Linked DNA regions of Homo sapiens: regions 1 and 3 are each linked to region 2. Evidence: promoter capture Hi-C in human tissues and cell types (Jung and others, 2019). All regions are on one chromosome and are shown on one strand. The core of a region is centred on a gene start or on the middle of the fragment in contact, and the rest is flanking DNA. Distances in the headings are between cores, read along the strand shown.

Region 1 (4,140 bases), core at 601-3,100, 50 kb after region 2:
AACTGTTTGCACAAACTCGGGACAAATGATATTGGGATAACGATCTACTAGAATAGGGACATTTTACCCACAGTTTCTGGGAGAAAAACCGAGGAATTTCTATCATGACCAGCCTTCAGGCCTCCTGAAATATATCTCTCACAGTCTCCTATTCTTATGCTGAGGAGCCTGAGGTCCCTGTGTGAGGGTTAGACAGTGGATTGTTATGTGTGTAGGGGAATCAGCTTAATGTGTCTGTCCATGTCTGAATTTATTGCAGAAATTGAAAAGAAGGGGAAGGGGAAGAAAAGAAGGGGAAGAAGATCAACGAAGAAAAGAAGGAGAAGGGGAAGAAAAGAAGGGGAAGAAGATCAAAACCCACCATGCCCCAGGTAACTTTCAGCAATTGTGGATGCTTAATTCTGTGTTAACACCTGGAGGCAACAGATTGAGGGAAACCAGAGTGTGTTTGATTTCATGTTTTCAACGAAGGCTGAATTACTCCTACTGTCATTGCTGTTGGTTTTCATTGCAGTAGATGTTTAGGTTTCCATTTCTTCCTCCCCTTATCATTTACTAACGTACCATAGGATGACCATACTTCAAAAGCTGTACTCTCATGGCCACTGCATCGAATTTTGAGCATATTTTATGGAAAACTATTGAGCTCACTCTTTTCATGATCGCAGTGTGCTGTGTGTCATGAGGGCACTAACTCAGAGTGTCCTTTTACTCCCTTACCAGTATGTCACCTGGCCAATTCACTAGCTCACTTTCTCTCTGTCTCTGTCTCTGTCTCTGTCTCTCTGTCTTTCTCTTTCATTGTTTTCTACCTGGCCCTTTTCTATCCCAACATAAAGGCAATAATTTTTTTTTTTTACCTCATTAATGGATCTAATGGATCTATCCTTTTCTTTTCTTACCACTTCCTTACGTTACTTCTGAAATCTAGTGGGGCTCTGTGGTGTCTGATTTTCCCTGGCTGCTTCTTTAGTTTTGTCTGCTTTTCCAGGCTCAGCGGCATGCTGATGGAAGTGGAAGAGCCTGAAGTCTTGCAGGACTCACTGGATAGATGTTATTCGACTCCGTCAATGTACTTTGAACTACCTGACTCATTCCAGCACTACAGAAGTGTGTTTTACTCATTTGAGGAACAGCACATCAGCTTCGCCCTTGACGTGGACAATAGGTTTCTTACTTTGATGGGAACAAGTCTCCACCTGGTCTTCCAGATGGGAGTCATATTCCCACAGTAAGCAGCCCTTACTAAGCCGAGAGATGTCATTCCTGCAGGCAGGACCTATAGGCACGTGAAGATTTGAATGAAACTATAGTTCCATTTGGAAGCCCAGACATAGGATGGGTCAGTGGGCATGGCTCTATTCCTATTCTCAGACCATGCCAGTGGCACCCTGTGCTCAGTCTGAAGACAATGGACCCAAGTTAGGTGTGACACGTTCACATAACTGTGCAGCACATGCCGGGAGTGATCAGTCAGACATTTTAATTTGAACCACTTATCTCTGGGTAGCTACAAAGTTCCTCAGGGATTTCATTTTGCAGTCATGTCTCTGAGCTTCTATACCTGCTCAAGGTCAGTGTCATCTTTGTGTTTAGCTCATCCAAAGGTGTTACCCTGGTTTCAATGAACCTAACCTCATTCTTTGTATCTTCAGTGTTGAATTGTTTTAGCTGATCCATCTTTAACACAGGAGGGATCCTTGGCTGAGGATTGTATTTCAGAACCACCAACTGCTCTTGACAATTGTTAACCCGCTAGGCTCCTTTGGTTAGAGAAGCCACAGTCCTTCAGCCTCCAATTGGTGTCAGTACTTAGGAAGACCACAGCTAGATGGACAAACAGCATTGGGAGGCCTTAGCCCTGCTCCTCTCGATTCCATCCTGTAGAGAACAGGAGTCAGGAGCCGCTGGCAGGAGACAGCATGTCACCCAGGACTCTGCCGGTGCAGAATATGAACAACGCCATGTTCTTGCAGAAAACGCTTAGCCTGAGTTTCATAGGAGGTAATTACCAGACAACTGCAGAATGTAGAACACTGAGCAGGACAACTGACCTGTCTCCTTCACATAGTCCATATCACCACAAATCACACAACAAAAAGGAGAAGAGATATTTTGGGTTCAAAAAAAGTAAAAAGATAATATAGCTGCATTTCTTTAGTTATTTTGAACCCCAAATATTTCCTCATCTTTTTGTTGTTGTCATTGATGGTGGTGACATGGACTTGTTTATAGAGGACAGGTCAGCTCTCTGGCTCAATGATCTACATTCTGAAGTTGTCTGAAAATGTCTTCATGATTAAATTCAGCCTAAACGTTTTGCCGGGAACACTGCAGAGACAATGCTGTGAGTTTCCAACCTTAGCCCATCTGCGGGCAGAGAAGGTCTAGTTTGTCCATCAGCATTATCATGATATCAGGACTGGTTACTTGGTTAAGGAGGGGTCTAGGAGATCTGTCCCTTTTAGAGACACCTTACTTATAATGAAGTATTTGGGAGGGTGGTTTTCAAAATTAGAAATGTCCTGTATTCCAATGATCATCCTGTAAACATTTTATCATTTATTAATCATCCCTGCCTGTGTCTATTATTATATTCATATCTCTACGCTGGAAACTTTCTGCCTCAATGTTTACTGTGCCTTTGTTTTTGCTAGTGTGTGTTGTTGAAAAAAAAAACATTCTCTGCCTGAGTTTTAATTTTTGTCCAAAGTTATTTTAATCTATACAATTAAAAGCTTTTGCCTATCACTCTGGACTGTTGGATTGTTTTTTACATTCAGTGTTATAATCTTTTGTTATGCTGATTGGTTTTGGTGGGTACTGATGTGAATTAATAAAAACATTTCCATTTCCCTGTTTATTTTCTAATCTCTTCCACCTTGTAGGCTATGTTTACCATATGTAGCAGAATGCATTTACTCCATTTCTTGGTTCTAGATATTTATATTCTTTGTGAGAGTGTGTGTGTGTGTGTCTGTGTGTGCCTCTGGCATTTAGGAAGGGTTGTGTAGCTCATGTTTGATATTGATTAAAAATGTTTCATAGTTTTCCCCCCTTTGAACTAGACACACTTCTAATATTTGGTTTATACATTTTAAATTATGACTTTCAACGTCAAATATTTCCATATGACAGTCAGTTACATGATGTGTTTTCTTTTTCCTACCTCCTTTACCTGCCACTTCTCATAATGGTATTTGAACCTAAACATATGCCAGTGACATTCTGTGGTTGTCATCTTGCCCACACCTTGGTTTTTGGTTTAGATCCACAATTAAATATATTAATGCTCATGAGCTGTTCAAAAGTGAATGTCACAGTCATCACTTGCTGAGTGGTACTCATCCTTAACAGAGTCCTCATGAGGGAATCAGGTCTCGCTGAGTTTAGCATGTTTAATAATCTTCCTCGTGGTCTTGATACATGGATCGCATTACTGGATATAAGGTGTTTGCCCAAAATGATTTTTCTTGCATTTTTAGGAGCTATTGTCTTCCTTGCGGGACATACATGCTGTATGTTCTCATTGTGGGATTCTATTTTGTTCTACCAGGACCTATAATTTCTGCCAGTTACTTCATTTGTTCTCTTCACCATGAGTCTCCAGAGGATGCTTCCTTTGTCCATGCCTCCCCATCTCCCAGCAATTCTGCGTTTCCAAGACTGGCACCTCTGGTCCTCTGCATGGTGAAGCCCCTTCCTTTCAATTCCCCAGTAGCCAGTGCTCTAATCCACCAGGTCTCAGGCATGATCTGTGTTTCTCCACATGCTCTTTCTGAGGATAGTTTTACCTGTGTTCTGTCATGAACAGGCCCTCCCTGCTGTCCTGGCCTCGATTTGCTTAGTGTTTCCTGCTCCCTCTGCCCTTGTGTGGCTCCCAGACCAAGTGAAACAAAATCACCTGAGGGCCACAGTGTTCCCTAGCCCTGGCGTTTAGGGGCAGGGTTATGGGTGGGATTTTTGACTCTCTAAGTTAACGCCTAGGGCTTTGAAGTGTCTGTTGAGAAATTCAGCTGTTATCATCCTAGGTGGACTTGCTCTCTCCTGTCCTCCTACTTCAAATGCAGAACTTCAATCGTGTACAAAAGAAGACTGAGTCATATAATAGAACACACCCTTATTCATTGGCTGGCTTCA
Region 2 (4,607 bases), core at 1,333-3,832:
GGCTTCTTCATATGCAAGGGGGTTATGATAATAATACCTACCCCATGAGGACGGTATGAGGACTAAAGAAAATCGTGTATGTATAGCCTCGGCCAATGCCCATAGACACTGAGTACTCAACTAGGTGTTAGCTAGCAGATTTTAAATTTGCATTTATTCGTATAGTTTTTAAGGTAAAATTTACATTCATTGAAATGTTAACTGTATGTTTTTTGACAAATGAATACACTTATATAACTCATATCCCTATCAAGACAGAGACCATTTTTACCACCCAGAAATTTCTCTCATGTAACTTCCCAGTCAATCCCCTGCCAGAGGGAACCACTGCTATGATTTTTTCACCACAGATTAATTTTCCCCTTTCTAGAATTTCAAATAAATGGGAAGGTATGTGCTCTTTTGTGTCATTTATCTTCACAGACTTTGAAATAAAAAAGTTACAATTTTAAACCTTTTGGGCATTTAGTAAAAATCTCCTTCCCACCAGTAGCCACCAGTCACCAGTCTTCATTTCTCTCTCTCTCTCTCTCTCTCTTTGAGACAAGATCTTGCTCTGTCATCCAGGCTGGAATGCAGTGGCATGATCATGGCTCACTGCAGCCTCAACCTCCTGAGCTCAAGCAATCCTCCCACCTCAGCCTCCCAAATAGCTGGGAGTACAGGTGCCCGCCACCACGCCTGGCTAATTTTGCTTGTATTTTATGTAGAGACAGGGTCTCACCAAGTTGCCCAGGTTAGTCTCAAACTCCTGAGCTCAAATGATCTGCGGGCCTTGGCCTCCCAAAGTGCTTGGATTACAGGTATGAGCCACTGTGCCTGGCTCAGTCTTCCTCTCTTAAAGCAACCAATGTTATTAGTTTTATGTGGGCCACCCCATGGCTTATCATTATTAATTCAGGTGTTTATACAAGGCTCTTTGAGAACTCAGTTTTAAAGGTTACCCAAAGCATCCTAAGACAACTCAGCCTAAAACGATATAAAATCAGTTTTAATATAACTGAAGTTTCTACATTCTGACTCCAACTGTCAGATTGTGACATTTTCTCTTTCTCTGACTTTATGCCAAATTTACTTCAACTTCTAGCATCCATCATTCTCATTTATGAACAAATATGTATTTAACAAATGTGGAAATACAAATCATGAAGCAAACAAAACCAAACCCTGGGCTTACGTAGCCGATAGTAAAAAATTCACCAAAATAACCACCCGATTACAGTTTCATGCAATGTGATAGGAGTAAGGGACCACCATAGGGAGGTCAGAAGGTGCTTTTCAGAGGTGGAGACTACAGCTGTTCTCAGAAGAATAGGGGTTAGAAGAACTTTCCAGGCACAGAGCAAAGCATGAGCAAAAGCTCTGTGGAGGCCAGGAAGCTGGTAAATAGGGAATAAAAGAGGCCAGTTTGGCTGGAGCAGAGAGAGCAGAACAGAATTGGTCTGAGTAGTGAGAAGAGATGAAGAAGTGGGCAAGGCGCCTGGCCATTCGGGGCTTGGTTAGTTAGGAGGTTTTGTCTAAGAGAATGGGAAGGTGTTTAAGTGCTTTAGGCTGGGAAGTGACACGGTCACATTATATTTTGGAAAAGCCACTCTGCCTGTTGTGTTGAGATTAGAGAGGCGATAAAGGGGATATGGGTAAACCACAAGAAGACTAGGTCAGTAGTCCCTCGACCCTCACTCCCCAGGTGAAGGCAGCCTAGACTAGGGTGGTGACGGAGGAGATAGAAGAGGACAGATTCAAGGAAAATTTGGAAGGTAAAAACCAGTAGGATTTGCTGACGGATGGAGTATAGGAGGGGAGAGGTAGATTATCAGGGATGTATCTTAGTTTTCTTATACAAGATAGATTCAGTTGCAATGAAATTGTTAACTGAAATTGACTTTAAATAATGGCATGACCTAAAGTTATGCAAACATTTGCCTTAGATAAAATATCAAGTTTTCAAAGTTTTTAGCTGGGTGGACGGCATGGCTTTACTTCCTATTTCTTGGTATTCTAATCCTGTTGAAAAAAAAAGTTTTTCTTTTTCTCAAAGGCTTATTTCAGTGGAAGCCCATCTGCAAAATCTGTTAATAAATTTAAATTAGAAAATAACTACAAGTGCCATTGACACATTGGTTATTCTTTTTGAGAGTGACCTAAGGCCACCTCTGGGAGAGCTGGGGGCTCTTCTGAAGCCTGCCCGACTGCACCGCGTGCCCGTGCCTGGAAGTCAGATTCGGGGCGGTGCGGCAGCGCGAGGCCTGCAGTCCTAAGCGCGGGGTCGCTCCAGCCCCAGAGGGGGTGTGTCTCCTGCCTCTTCAACCTGGCAGGGGCTGTTCAAGTGGCCGGGGAAACCAGCGATTTGGAGGGTCGAGGGCTGGTGCTTTGAAAGACAGGCGGAGGGGAGAGAGGGATTTCCCCGTCCCCGCTGCACTCGGTCCTTCCCCTGGGTTACTCCTTTCCTCCGCCTGCGCGGCCCCTAACCTGCTCGAACCCGTTGTGCAGAAGAGGCCGCCGGGTCCCTTTAAGGCCCCGCCGCGCCTGCGCCTTGGGTTATCCTGACACGCCCATCGGGATCCTGAGGAGCCAGTGGGCTGCAGGCGCAGGCGCAGGCGAGGGGCTGGGTGGCGGTTGAGACAGCGGCGGTACTGGGAGGCGTAGGTGAGGGTCGCGAGGCTGCCCGAGCTTCTGAGCGAGCGCGGTGCTTTTGGGAACGCGGGACGGGCGATCTGCGGCGCCAGGAGCTGGGCCGAGGCGCGGCGGCGCGGCTGCCGGCTGCCCTGTGAATGGGAAGTTACGCGAAGTCCACCCAGCGTTTCTGAGGTGAGGGCGCCGCGCCAGGCTGGGCGGGCGGTGAATCCGGGACCCGCGGGCGCACAGCTGGGTCGAGGCGCGGCCGTGGCAAGTTTTGTTGCGCGAGCGCGGGGGCGGGTGGGGGCTGTGGGGGGTCGTGCACCGCCGGGGCCTGAGTTCCCCGCGCTGGATTCTTCGCCTGCCGCTGCCGCCCGCAGCCCAACTCTCGTGGGCGCTGGGGAAGAAACTCGCTGGCGGGTGTTCTGTGGCATCCCAGGGGGTGGAGGGACGGAGCAGCTTCGGGGGCACGTCCTCCTATATCCTGTAGAGGACACTGACCCCGCACCCCACCCTCCAGGCCAGAAATCCGTTCCCTCTGCGGACCTGAGAGGCGAGCGCGCTCGCGCCCCTGACTTGCAAAGTTGGGGTCTTTACTGGCCTCCGGGCTTCTGCTCCTGGCGGTGTCTCCAGGCTGGTGATGGGCAAGCCAGGTGTGCCAGCTCCAGGATGCACATGAGCAGCATTTGTAGCCATCACTGAATCACCTCCTGACTAGCGGGGCAAGCCTCAAATGAACCGCAGGATTTCGGGTAGATTGGATTGTGGGGTTGCTGTTTGCACTCCAAAGAGTTGCTGTGATTTCCCTGCGTCTGGCTGGCTGGCTGGCTTCTTAGATCATCTCATGTGGCGTCCTTTCAGCGGAGAGTTAACCAAGACGTTTGGCCTGGCTTCCTTGTTTTCCTCCTATCTTTTGCTTAGAGCTGCTTTCGAAAAGAAGTCTTTTCTGGCAGTGGTATCTTTTCTTTGGGTTACAGTGTTGTTCATCCTTTCTTTGCCAAAAGAATGAATCCCAGTGCTTCAGGAAGTTAAAGAAAAGATCTGCTGGTAGTGTTCTGAGCTGATATGCGTTAGTAGCTTTTTGTTTTTAAATTCTATTGGTAAAATTTCACTAGTGAACCAGAAGCTACTTTTTCTATTCTGAAATGCTAGCTTTAAGATTTCTGAGAACTTTGCGTCAAAGAAATCTTGGAAAAGTTACTGAAGTATACAGAAGTTCACAATTTTACATGTGCAGGTGGCCCGGGCGCAGTGATCACACCTGTAATCCCAGCACTTTGGGACGCCAAGGTGGGTAGATCACTTGAGCCCAGGATTTCCAGACCAGCCTGGGCAATGTGGCAAAACCCTTTCTCTACTAAAAATACAGAAGTTAGCTGTGTGTGGTGGCGTGTGCCTGTAGTCCCAGCTACCCGGTAGGCTGAGTTGGGAGGATCACCAGAGCCCGGGAGGTTGAGATTGCAGTGAGCCGTGATCATGGCAGTGCACTCCGACCTGGATGGCAGAGTGAGACCCTGTCTCAAAAAAAAAAAAAAAAAAGTAATGAATTTTTACCAAGTGAACCACCACAGATCAAGAAATTGAACATTACTAGTCTGGGGTATATTTGTAGGGGTGGCATTGTTGGTTTTAGAGGTATATGAATGATAAAACTTTAGTATTACATATTGTTGAACATTTTCCCAAAGTAGTTGTACCATTTAGCAGGGATATGCTGGTTACCCCACATCTTCGCTGATACCTGTCAGTTAAAAATTATTTTGCCATTCTAGTAGGGGTGCAGTAATATATCAGTGTGGTTTCATTGAGATTGAGTATCTTTTATTGCCATTTATATGTCCTCTTTTGTGACGTGCCTGTTAAATCTTTTTATCCAGTTTTCATTGATATGCTTGTTTTCCTGTTGATTTGTAATACTTTATTCTGGATATGCCTCCTTTCTAGGATTTATATGTATTGCATTTCCCTTTTTTCAATCTGTAGCTTGCGTT
Region 3 (4,379 bases), core at 172-2,671, 45 kb before region 2:
CTGAGAATTATCTGCCTGGCTATCTAGAAGATAGCTCCTTGCATTTTTTGGGGGAGAACACTTTTGCTTCAAGGGAGTGTTTCCTCCCAGGATTAGAAATCTTTCTGTAACCTCAGGAAACATTGCTGATGAAAACCAGGCATGGTGTGCTGTACAACTTGTAGTAATAAGGCAGAAGTTAAAAGGAAAAGACAGGTTCCCTGTACTTGGCTGACTCCAAGACCTGCCATAGATAGAGCCCTAGTAGATCCTCGGTAACACGATCTGAAAAGTCAGAGCCGCGAGGAGTGAGTTCCGGAGACTCTCTCAACACAGTAAGCCCCAACAAAGATAAGAGGAAAAAACAACAAATGCCTTTACTACCTTCTCTTTCCCCCTTCCCATTTCTAATTATTCAAGTTTTGTTAAGTTCTTGATTTCCCTTCAGTGCAGCTGCAAGGTCACCAGCTATACTTGCATTGCAAGACCTGTGACAGTTTGATTAGCTGCCTTTGTTCTGCTTCTATAAGCCCTCTTGCCTGCCCCCGAGTTTCATGCCATCAAATTCCCGCCGCGCCATTCAAACTAGCCGACCCCCTTTCAGAAGTGTCTATAAAGTTAAGCCCTGTCTTTGTTCGGGGCTCAGCCTTTGGATTTTCATCTGCTGGGCCTCAGTGCAGTCAATAAATCCTCCTGTTCCACCCATTGGTCTCTCTGTTCTCCTGATTCCCACAACAGTAGTAGGGGACTGCGTTCCCACTTTCCCCTGGTCTTTCATGGTATGAATAATGGACAGCATTTTTTTTTTTCACCTATAGTCGCAGGCTCGGTCTCAGTGATTGTATGCTGTGGTCAGCTGTTTTTGTTTTTGTGAGACCTTGCTTTCTTGTTTACTGTCCTGGGACAGATGTCTGTAGTCACTTGTTTCCTCGGGAGGCAAATTTCAGTCTCTGTCGGGGAGGTCTCCCATGTTAGCTGTGGTGGTACTTGGCAGGCAGAGCTCAGGGATCTAGGCTTCCGTGCTTTGTAGATTGCTCAATGGTCCCCAAGGCCTAGTGGCTTTTAACACCACTTGAAAACCTTAGTGTTTTTCCACTGTCCCCAGAGTCACCTCTTACACAGCCTCTTTTTTTGTTTGTTTGACTTTTTCTCTGAGAGACAGTCTCACTGTATCTTGGTTGAATCGATCCTCCCACCTCAGCCTCTGGAGTAGCAGAGGCACGAGTCACCACAGCCGGCTTATATCTGTTCTTTTTGTTGTTGTGGTGGCTGTCTTGTTTTTTTAAGAGTTGAAGTTTCTCCATGTTGCCCAGGCGACGTGCTCCCGGCGAAGGAGGCCGCCTGCCTGGGGGCGGGCTGGAGCCACGTCCCAGGGCTGGGGGCGCTGTGGGCACTGTGGGTGCCGCACCCACCGCTGCCCGGCACCGGAGGCCAAGAGAGCGTTCCCGACGGGCTCCGCGGATGCCCCGCCGCGTCCTGCTGCCCATCCTGCCCGGGTTGTCGCGGGCCGGGGGCACGACAAGAGGCCGGGGTCTGCCCGGACGCAGCGGCCTGCAGGGCGCAGCTGTCCCTCCACCAGCCGGGGTCCCCTCGCTCAGCCCATGAGACAAATAAATGAATACATAAATAAATAAATAAATAAAAGATGGAGTCTTGCTCTGTCGCCCAGGGTGGAGTGCAGTGGTGCGATCTCGGCTCACTTCAACCTCTGCCTCCCAGGTTCAAGTGATTCTCCTGCCTCAGCCTCCTGAGTAACTGGGATTACAGGTGCATGCCACCACACCCGGCTAATTTTTCGATTTTTAGTAGAGACGGGATTTCATCACGTTGGCCAGGCTGGTCTCGAACCCCTGACTTCAAGTGATCCACCCGCCTTGACCTCCCAAAGTGCTGGGATTACAGGCATGAGCCACTGCACCCAGCCAGAAGTGGGCATTAATATGCAGGCGCCGTATAGGGCAACATCTGTGTGCACCTCTTACAAATCTTAATGCTGTGTATATGAGGGGAGTCCTTCGTGTCCCCCTGGGGATGTTTGAGGTTGCCTGTATGTGTTATGTGTGTGCATATTTTTAAGCTCAGATATGCATAGGCGGATTGACACCTCTGTTTGAATGTATTCCCATGAGCTCATGCCATTAATTCACCATCACAAGAAATATTTACTGAGCGTGAGCCATGCCATTCCACAGACACCATTATAGCACTAAGATACAATGAGGAACAAAAAATCCAGGCTTTCTGAGCTCACACTGGGGTGGGGGCATGGTGGGAAGACACAGGCATCAATGTAATAAACAGAAACCACGACAGGGCTAAGTGTTCTGGAGGAGAGGCGCATGGTGTACTGAGGCCCCTGACGTAGACCCCAGGTGCACCTTTGAGCTTTGCCTGCATGGTTTGGGTTTGTGGGCTCACCTGCATGTGTCCATGCATGCCCCATCTGCGTGCCCGTGCATGGCTGCATCACCCCATGCACACGTGCACTGCCCCTGGGCTTGCCCACATGTGCTGCTCCCCAGGGCGCCAGGCTATCAGCCTACAAGGCATTGTGGGTCTGGGCCCAGCCTGCCACCCCCTACAGAGGCCTGAGCCTGCCTTCCCAGGAGGCCCAGGACTCTCACCCAGGGCCCTTCCCTGCAGCTGGAGCAGGCTCTGTGGCTGCAATCTGGTGAGCTGGAGACGCAAGAGCCCAGGGGGCTGGTACTCCAGAGCGTGGAGTTGCGGAGGCAGCTGCAGGAGGAGCAGGCCTCCTAGTGGCGCAAGCTGCAGGCCTACCTGGAGGGCCAGCAGCGGCAGGCCCAGCTTGTGCAGCGGCTGCAGGGCAAGGTCAGGGCCACCCATTCCTGCTCTTTCCCTCCCACGTGTTCACTTTGCCCTGCCCCCACCCCTGGGGCTCACCATCAGCTCCCAATCCCCAGATTCTCCAGTACAAGAAGAGGTTCTCGGAGCTGGAGCAGCTGTTGGAGAGATCCGGAGAGCTGGAGCAGCAGCAGCTGAGGGTGGGTGCCAGGGTGGGGCAGAGGCAGGCCCTGCCCTCCACCTGCCCAGCCTGATGCTTTAACCTCTGTGCCACCCAGGACGCAGAGCACAGCCAAGACCTGGAGAGTGCCCTCATCTGGCTGGAGGAGGAGCAGCAGGGAGGGCCAGGGCTGGCAGCATGGCCCCCTGGGCGAGCGCCTACTGATCCCCTGTGCCCCATTCAGGAGTGCCAGCCTGGCCCAGGTGAATGCCATGCTCTGAGAACAGCTGGACCAGGCAGGTTTGGCCAACCAGGCTCTGAGTGAGGAGATACGAAAGGTGACCAGTGACTGGACTCGCAGCTGCAAGGAGCTGGAGCAGTGGGAGGCGGCATGGAGGCGCGAGGAGGAGGTGGGCATGGGGGTGCAGGGAGGCCGGCGATATAAGAGGAAGATAATGCACAATTATGCTAGTGAGACTCTCTTTTCCAATAATGTTTGCACTTCTCAATACTACATTTAAAAAGGAAATAGGAGCACTTGAACGGTTAAGTAAGAAGATGAACAAAATTGAACAGAGGAAAAATAACTGTCTGAAGACATGTTGAAAATACATTTAAAGACAGTCTGTCTGAGACAGGAGCTGAGCTGGCCAATCCATCTTTTAAATAATTGAACATCATTCAGGTGTCAAGTATTTGACCTGGAGCCTGGAAGGGGAGGAGAGAGTCCAAAAAAAAGTCAAAATATAAAGAAAAAAAATTAAAGAACTTGTCCCACAAATCAGGCAACCAAGGTCTAAACTTATACCCTCTGCCTGGGTAAATTGTTGTTGCTTCTTTCTGTGACTCTTAAAAGATGTACCATATACCTCATTTAATGACTTTGCTTTATTCATGAAAACTCTATCCCCATGGGAAAAGCTGTTAAATGAAAAAAGATTTCTTTTAAGTAGAAAAATTATGAAAGGATTCCTTCCAACCCTCCATACCCAAAATATCTCAAATGAATTATGTATCTATCAATTATCAATATATATCAAAATATACCAATTAAAAATATCAGTTAAACAATACGTCAATTGAACTATGAAAGCAAGCTTATTTAAGTAGCAAAGAATAACGTGAAGGTTAGTAAGTATAGCTTATACTTAAAATACAATGAATTGAAAGCTCATGGCACTTCATAGAGTAGGAAGAAGAAACTTAATAGAAAGTGGTAGTTGGGCGAGAAGGACTGCAAGGGAGTTATTTGGAAAATGCATTTTTTATTTCTGCATCATTTTGTTCACAAATTATTCCTAATCTTTTGTGAATTTGTGGATTTCTTGAACTCAAACCAGACTTAAAAATACAGTTATAGCACAGAAAAAAATCTTTAATGGCAAAATAAAAGCTAAGCAAGAGAGCCTTTCAAAACACATGAAAATAACACACACAT

The links. The method cuts DNA at HindIII sites, captures the fragments that hold promoters and counts their contacts. A contact is called where the count stands out against the background at its distance.
Region 1: a contact is called between a fragment that was not itself captured here and the fragment with the promoter of NBPF1 in region 2, in 2 of the 25 tissues and cell types used here (aorta and neural progenitor cells).
Region 3: a fragment that was not itself captured here is called in contact with the fragment with the promoter of NBPF1 in region 2 in 1 of the 25 tissues and cell types used here (psoas muscle).

The regions. Positions count from the first base shown.
Region 1 is chr1:16,561,038-16,565,177 of GRCh38, reverse strand. NBPF1 (NBPF member 1) reads left to right here. Exons shown (of 18, transcript NM_001405701.2): 17 at 260-371; 18 at 992-2,755. The coding sequence ends at 1,235. Among named protein-coding and RNA genes, the nearest start is that of TRG-CCC1-1, 17 kb to the right of the region's middle. RefSeq lists an enhancer at 25-902. The HindIII fragment of the contact is 4,147 bases long and covers 1-3,923 here.
Region 2 is chr1:16,611,539-16,616,145 of GRCh38, reverse strand. It overlaps NBPF1 (NBPF member 1), which reads left to right and starts at 2,582. Exons shown (of 18, transcript NM_001405701.2): 1 at 2,582-2,808. RefSeq lists an enhancer at 1,781-2,738. The HindIII fragment of the contact is 9,860 bases long and covers 1-4,607 here.
Region 3 is chr1:16,655,476-16,659,854 of GRCh38, reverse strand. No RefSeq gene overlaps it. Among named protein-coding and RNA genes, the nearest start is that of RNU1-3, 9.3 kb to the left of the region's middle. RefSeq lists an enhancer at 2,125-2,933. The HindIII fragment of the contact is 8,663 bases long and covers 1-4,379 here.